Linked DNA regions of Homo sapiens: region 1 is linked to region 2. The links are contacts of gene promoters, found by promoter capture Hi-C in human tissues and cell types (Jung and others, 2019). All regions are on one chromosome and are shown on one strand. The core of a region is centred on a gene start or on the middle of the fragment in contact, and the rest is flanking DNA. Distances in the headings are between cores, read along the strand shown. Region 1 has its middle 28 kb from the start of PLXNB1. Region 2 holds the start of SLC26A6 (solute carrier family 26 member 6).

Evidence for each region. The method cuts DNA at HindIII sites, captures the fragments that hold promoters and counts their contacts. A contact is called where the count stands out against the background at its distance.
Region 1: a contact is called between a fragment that was not itself captured here and the fragment with the promoter of SLC26A6 in region 2, in 1 of the 25 tissues and cell types used here (spleen).

What each region holds. Positions count from the first base shown.
Region 1 is chr3:48,399,959-48,403,282 of GRCh38, reverse strand. No RefSeq gene overlaps it. Among named protein-coding and RNA genes, the nearest start is that of PLXNB1, 28 kb to the left of the region's middle. The HindIII fragment of the contact is 5,455 bases long and covers 1-3,324 here.
Region 2 is chr3:48,633,725-48,636,783 of GRCh38, reverse strand. It overlaps SLC26A6 (solute carrier family 26 member 6), which reads left to right and starts at 1,323. Exons shown (of 21, transcript NM_022911.3): 1 at 1,323-1,413. The coding sequence starts at 1,391. It overlaps CELSR3 (cadherin EGF LAG seven-pass G-type receptor 3), which reads left to right. Exons shown (of 35, transcript NM_001407.3): 35 at 1-321. RefSeq lists silencers at 1,115-1,394, 1,785-1,884. The HindIII fragment of the contact is 9,287 bases long and covers 1-2,285 here.

The sequences.
Region 1 (3,324 bases), core at 277-2,776, 230 kb after region 2:
CAGGGGGTTGATACTCCTCTTGACTTGAGACCACCCTCGGCCTTAGCAGAAGGCCAGCCCCCCATGGAACAGAAGAGATAGGGTGGCAGCTCTGCCTGGCAGATGAGAGGAAGGCCCTTCAGCCTTGAGGCCTTCAGAGGGATCATCCCTTTGGCCCTCTGCTTATCCTCCATAACCCAGTGACCCTTAGCATTTCCTCTCGTCTGGCACAGAGACCACAACCTCCCCTCGAGGTCTTCATTGAGTGTTTAGAGAGAGACAGACTGATAGAATTCCAGGAGGACTCCTATCCCCTGCCTTTTTTTGGCCCTAAATAAAGCCATCCACTGTAGGGTTGCCCCTACAATCCACAAAGTCCTTGTCCCTAAGGAGCCATGTTGGTCTTGTCTGTGCCGGGGGTAGTCATAGCTGCTATTCTTCGCTGTGGCTCCATTGTCCCTTCTTTCCCATTTCTGCCGGATGTGGGGACCACAGTCAGGTCAGCAGCCAGGTGCCATCATTTGGGAGCATGTGAGCTTGGATGCTCTGGCCAGGTTTTCATAGCCACCCAGAATGGTCCTGACTTTTCCCGTTGGAGACCATGGAATGGGTCTCCATCTTGACCATCTCTGGGAGCAGGGTGGATGGGAAATCCACTTGAGGGTGGACTTCAAGCAGACACAGAGGGAAGCAGCCTTGGTCAGCACCACAGACCTCGACAGAGCCATGCCTCTGTTCCAGAGGCCTCTCTGTTCCAGGTTCAGGCCCCTGCAGGTTTTAGGGGTAGGTGAAGGCTCCCGGGAGAGGGGGGCCATGTGCCTGCAAGCCTGGGCACGTGCCCGCGGGAGGGGTGAGTACTGAACGTGCTTTGAGTCACTCACTGAGTCATGGCTCAGCCGCCACAGAACATTGTTATAATAACAGACATAGAGAAGAAAAACCTGGCACAAGAAGATAGGAAATTCTGTCTTCACTCCAAACCATGACCAAGAATGGAGATTCCAACACCAGCAAGAATTTGTGATCGCTTAACTTGGGTCATGACCACAATTTCAGCATAGAACATTTGTAATTCAGTTTGATCAATCTTTTCCTAATTTTTATTAAGACTGCAACGAAAGTGTGCCCTCATTATTACATTTTTCACAAACCTGTTAGCATACAAAGGGCCTTTGTTTCTCATTACCACCCGGGGCTCCTTAAGGCGTTTTATGGAGTGATGTGCTTTATTAAAAAGCGTTTTCACCAACTTAAAAGTTGGAATAATTGTCCAAATGGTTACATGACCCAGGAGTTCTATATTTTTATTAATTTTCTGATACTGAAATAATCGTGCTAATTAAGATAACAGCTGAATTTATGCTGATGAATGTTGGAATTCTTAGAAGCCACCTGAAACCTTCCAAATGGTCAGGACCTGGATCCCACTGGCCAGTGCCAACAGGTGACTCTGGGTGGTGCTGGGGGATACAGGGAACCTAGCTGTGTTCTGCTTGGCACCAATGGCTGCTGATGCATGTGTTTCCTCCACCAGGTTCCCTAAGGATGCCACATTGAAGAACAAATACACCCCAAACTACCTAGGTCAGCTGACTGGCGATGTTTTATGGATCTCTCTTTAAAAGTGTTCTGTCGGCCAGGCGCAGTGGCTCACCCCTGTAATCCCAACACTTTGGGAGGCCGAGGCAGGCGGATCATCTGAGGTCAGGAGTTTGAGACCAGCCTGCCCAACATGGCAAAACCCCGTCTCTTCTAAAAATACAAAAAATTAGCCAGGTGTGGTGGCGGGCGCCTCTCATCCCAGCTACTCAGGAGGCTGAGACAGGAGAATCGCTTGAACCCGGGAGGCGGAGGTTGCACTGAGTCGAGATCGCGCCACTGCACTCCAGCCTGGGTGACGAGCAAAACTCCATCTCAAAAAAAAAAAAAAAAAAGTGTTCTCTGTCTTAATTAAGGATGATGGTTTATCCAATTCCAAATGTTTACCAAAAATCTAAGATAAGGATATCACCATGATGTTTGAAAGAGAATTTATGCCCTGGTTGTGATGTTGGGGTTTTATTGATAAGAGTTTCAGTTATCTGGATGATATGTGCACGTGTAAGGAAACAGAATGGTTTGCCAGTTGTCCAGGTGGCCATGAAGAGAACCTCTGGAGGTCTAGGAATGTGAAGCTCAGATTTTGGAAACCTGGTCCGGTGTCCTGGGCCACAGGTAAGTGGCTGAAGCTGGTGGTTTGCTGCCATCTTCTGGCCATAGTGTGGAATTTATCAGAAGCAGCTACCAATGAGGGTGTCTGGAGCTCTATAAATTGCAAGCCTGGGCAAGATAGCCAGACCCCATCTTTACGAAAACTGTTTAAAAATTAGCTGGGCATGGTAGCACACATCTGTAGTCTCAGCTATTTAAGAGGTTGAGGTGGGAGGATTGCTGGACTCCAGGAGTTTGAGGCTGCAGTGAAAGATTATGCCACTCCACTCCAGACTGGGTGACAGTGAGACCCTGTCTCTTCAAAAAAAGAGAGAGAGAAATCACAACAGTGGAATTCAGTAGTGCTGGAGCTTAGTGAGTAATCTTACCCTGTCTTTAACGTGAATTCTGGTTTTAGGGTGAGCTATGTCTTAGGACATAGTTGAGATAACAGTGAGTGACTAGTCAAGAAAACAGCCGGGCACAGTGGCTCACACCTGTAATCCCAGCACTTTGGGAGGCCAAGGTGGGTGGATCACTTGAGGTCAGGAGTTCGAGACCACCCTGATCAACATGGTGAAACCCCATCTCTACTGAAAATACAGAAATTAGCCGGGTGTGATTGTGTGCACCTGTGATCCCAGCTACTGGGGAGGCTGAGGAAGGAAAATCACTTGAACCTGGGAGGCAGAGGTTTCAGTGAGCTGAGATTATGCCACCACACTCCAGCCTGAGCTGAGATTATGCCACCACACTCCAGCCTGAGCTGAGATTATGCCACCACACTCCAGCCTGAGCAGCAGAATGAGACTCTGTCTCAAAAAGAAAACAACAACAACAACAACAAAAAACCAGAAACCACTCTAGGTGTTTCCAATGGAAGGAATTTAAATATAAGGGATTGATTATGAAAGTGTGTGAAGGACAAAAAGGGGAGTAGTTATCCAGCGGTGAGTGACTATAGAAGCCTCTGTCACCTATAAGCTGGCAAAGGGGGCAGCAGTGTTACCCACAGCCTCTGACTGCTGAGTCAGTGGCGCCCGTGGGAAGCCAGGAGCTGCATGCTGGCTGACGCTGCAGGTGCCTGGGAACCTGCTAACCTGGCCCCTCCACCCATGCTGGTGAGTTGGTGCTGCTGGGGCACCTGCTGCCCTA
Region 2 (3,059 bases), core at 74-2,573:
GGTCTGTGCAGACACCTCCTCACCCACCACCCCATGCATACTCTTGGGAAGCAGCTTCCTGGGAGATTAGAAATTCTACTTCCCTGACTGGAGCTAAATCCCACCAGCCAGGACCCAAACTCTCCTTACCGAGAAGGACCCCAGCTCTTGAAGGGCTGAGTGGCCTGCTGGGGGTGGGAGGGTGTCTTTACTATGTCCTAGGTTTCGTAGATGCCCCTCTCTGGGGTTCCCCTCCTCCAGCCCAGCGGCCCTCTTTCCTGTCTGTGTAAATTGTTCCGTGAAGCCGCGCTCTGTTTTGGGAATAAACTTCTATAGAAAACAGTTGTTGCCTTTTCCTGTTGGGGGCTGGGGAGGTAGGATGGAAGCTGTGAATGATTCAAGCCAGACTGACCTTTGGGAGGAATCTGAGCCCCTCCCAAGAATATCCAGCTATTTTTAGCCCATTTCATGGCAGATCTCTTTCACCTTGAAATCTGGCCCCTCACTTTGTAATTGGGGCCTGATGTTGGAGCACAGGTGCTGAAAATAAGGTGCTAAGGAAAACCTCCCCGCTGGTCAAGGCAACGGCAACAGGACTTCCTAATTCTTCAGGGTCTGCAGCCCTGACCCGGCATTTTTTGCCCTCACCTGCGGTGAAACCAACCTGAGGAACTGCTCTTGCAGTTCCTGCCTTGCCCACCCAACAGCACTGACGCCCACCCAACAGCACTGACCCCCACCATTCTCCTCGGCGGCCCGCGCAGTAACCTTCTGGGAGCTACGTCCGGGCTGTGCTTAGTGCAGCGGAGGGGATCCTCCAACCATTTCTGGCCTGGGTGGCCAGAGTTAAAGGGGAGGACTTGGGGACCGTTGGCTCCGGGTCTCAAAGAGATGCGTAGTCGCAGAAAGCCTGCGGGTGGCGCTCTCAGCTGAAGGCAAGAGAGGCCCCACAGACCTGGATCCCCTACGAGTTAAGGCTGGGGTCACCGGCCAGTGGAGTTTCCTTTTCCCACTCCGTGAGCACCTTCCGCCGAGCCAGGACCTGGGATCAGCTCCAACCTACTCAGGGCCTGGGGGCGCGACTGCGGCCAGCCCGGCGCGGGTGCTTAGTTCCAGTTCTGCAGTCCCATCCAGCTCCGGGCAGAGGGCCGGGCGAGCAGCGAGAGGCCTCATAGGCCAGGTCGCCGGGGAGGAAGCGGTTAAATCCTCCTTCTCCAGTCTCTCCCCGCCCGGCGCGCGCCACTTAGGCCCCGCCCCAGCGCGCTGATTGGCCCAAGCCTCCCCGTCCTGCCCCGGGATTAGCCCCCGGGAGAGCGCAGCTGGCCTCACCCGGTCCCGGCGCCGCCTTCCGGAGCGTAGCGGCCTCTAGCTCGAGCAGCAGGAGCAGCCCGCACCGGACAACTTGCGAGCCATGGGGCTGGCGGATGCGTCGGGGTGAGTTCAGCGCACATTCCCGGTGGCCCCGCGCGAGCGCCTCGCTGGAGCAGGCATTCTCCGCTTGCGACGCCTCGCTGGAGCAGGCATTCTCCGCTTGCGACGCCTCGGTTTACCTCTGCTGATTTTCTGCAGGCGGCTGCCCCTCTGCAGCAAGGGGTGGGGGCGGGAGCCGGCGCGACCCCAGTCCCTTGGGCTGTGCGGAAAGCCGCTGGTGTGACGCCCGAGGGCCATCCCGGGCCACAGGGAGGCAGCTGCGTGCGGAGGAGCCCGGCCAGGAGATGTGCCGGCGGGGGTGCGTGGGGCACGGGAGTCCCTGGCAGCGGCCCGTGGACTAGCTGCTTTCAGCTGAGTCCCGAGTCCACCCAGCTCCACTGATCCCGGAGTGAGCGCTCCGGCCTTTCTGGCCCCAGTTGCCTTCCTACAGGGAGGGGCCAATGATCAAGGCTCCGCCCTCCAAACGCGGGTCCCAAGTTGTCGGGGGAGGGAGCCCTTTAAGAAGACCTGAGTGACTCACGTAGGAAAGGAGAGGGGGCTCTACGATCTCCTTGAGATAGCGGTCCCAAGAGTCTCTGAGGATCTTCCTTGCACCCACTCCACACTCCTCCAACAGTACAGCCAGGTTAGAGGCGCTTCCCAGGTGAGTTCCTGTCCCTCAAATGGGATCCTCTCCCCAGGTCAGGGCTTTTCCTAGATCAGAACTTTCCTGACTGGTGAAAGCTTCCCCAACAGGCTAGAGTTTTCCCCCAGGTAAGATCCTTCTGTGAGATCTATTCCCAGGTGACAGCTTTTCCCCATTCCACGTGGGAGCCTCGCCCGAGGTCAGAGCTTTCTCTATGGGAGAGTACCCCCCAGGTGAGAACCCTCTCCCTCTAGGTCTTTTCTTCCCATGTGAGATCTTTCTCTGACTTCAAGTAGGTGCCTCTGGGCAGAGGGAAGATTCCCCCTGTATCAGAACTTGCCAGGCTGATAAAGATTCCCTGGTAGGTCAGAGATCCCTCTAGGTGAGATTCCCCTTGAAAGCTTCTATTCCCAGGTGAGCTCTTTCCCCCACTTCAAGTGGGTACTTCCCTTTCCATGTGGGAGCCTCTCCCTCTAGGTGAGAGATTGCCACTCCAAGAGCAAGCTCCTTCTCAGGTGAGAGCCAGTCCTTGGCTTCCCCATAACAGGCCTGAGCCGTCTACAACCTGGACCCTGGGGCTGGAGGCCCAGGGGCAAGCTTGGCTCCAACACTTTCCTTCCCTTAGAGGGGAGGGTCTCATCTGAGGCCTGAGGCTTGGGAAAGGAGTTGCTTGAGGAGCTGGACCCCTGGTTTGCTGGACCCCTTCCCTGAGTGTGCTCTCAGCCAGCAGTGGGCTCCCGGGGCAGCTGGAGGAGGACCTGGGGACTGGAGAGGGACTGGGTGGGGGAGGGAGCAGCCTGGGACCTGGACTGGTAGAACACTCAGCACTGGGCTGCCACATCTCGGCTGGAGGTATAGCTAGTGCTCATCCTGCAGTCCCTACTTGGGGGACTTTGTCCTAGAAAGAGGCTTTCTCACCAGCCAAAGTTCAGGTACTGCCCCTGTCTGAGTTTGGACATGTGGCCCACAGATGCCAGCTGGGGGCTGGAATACTGTACCTTGATCTTAGGGCCTGGAAAAATCA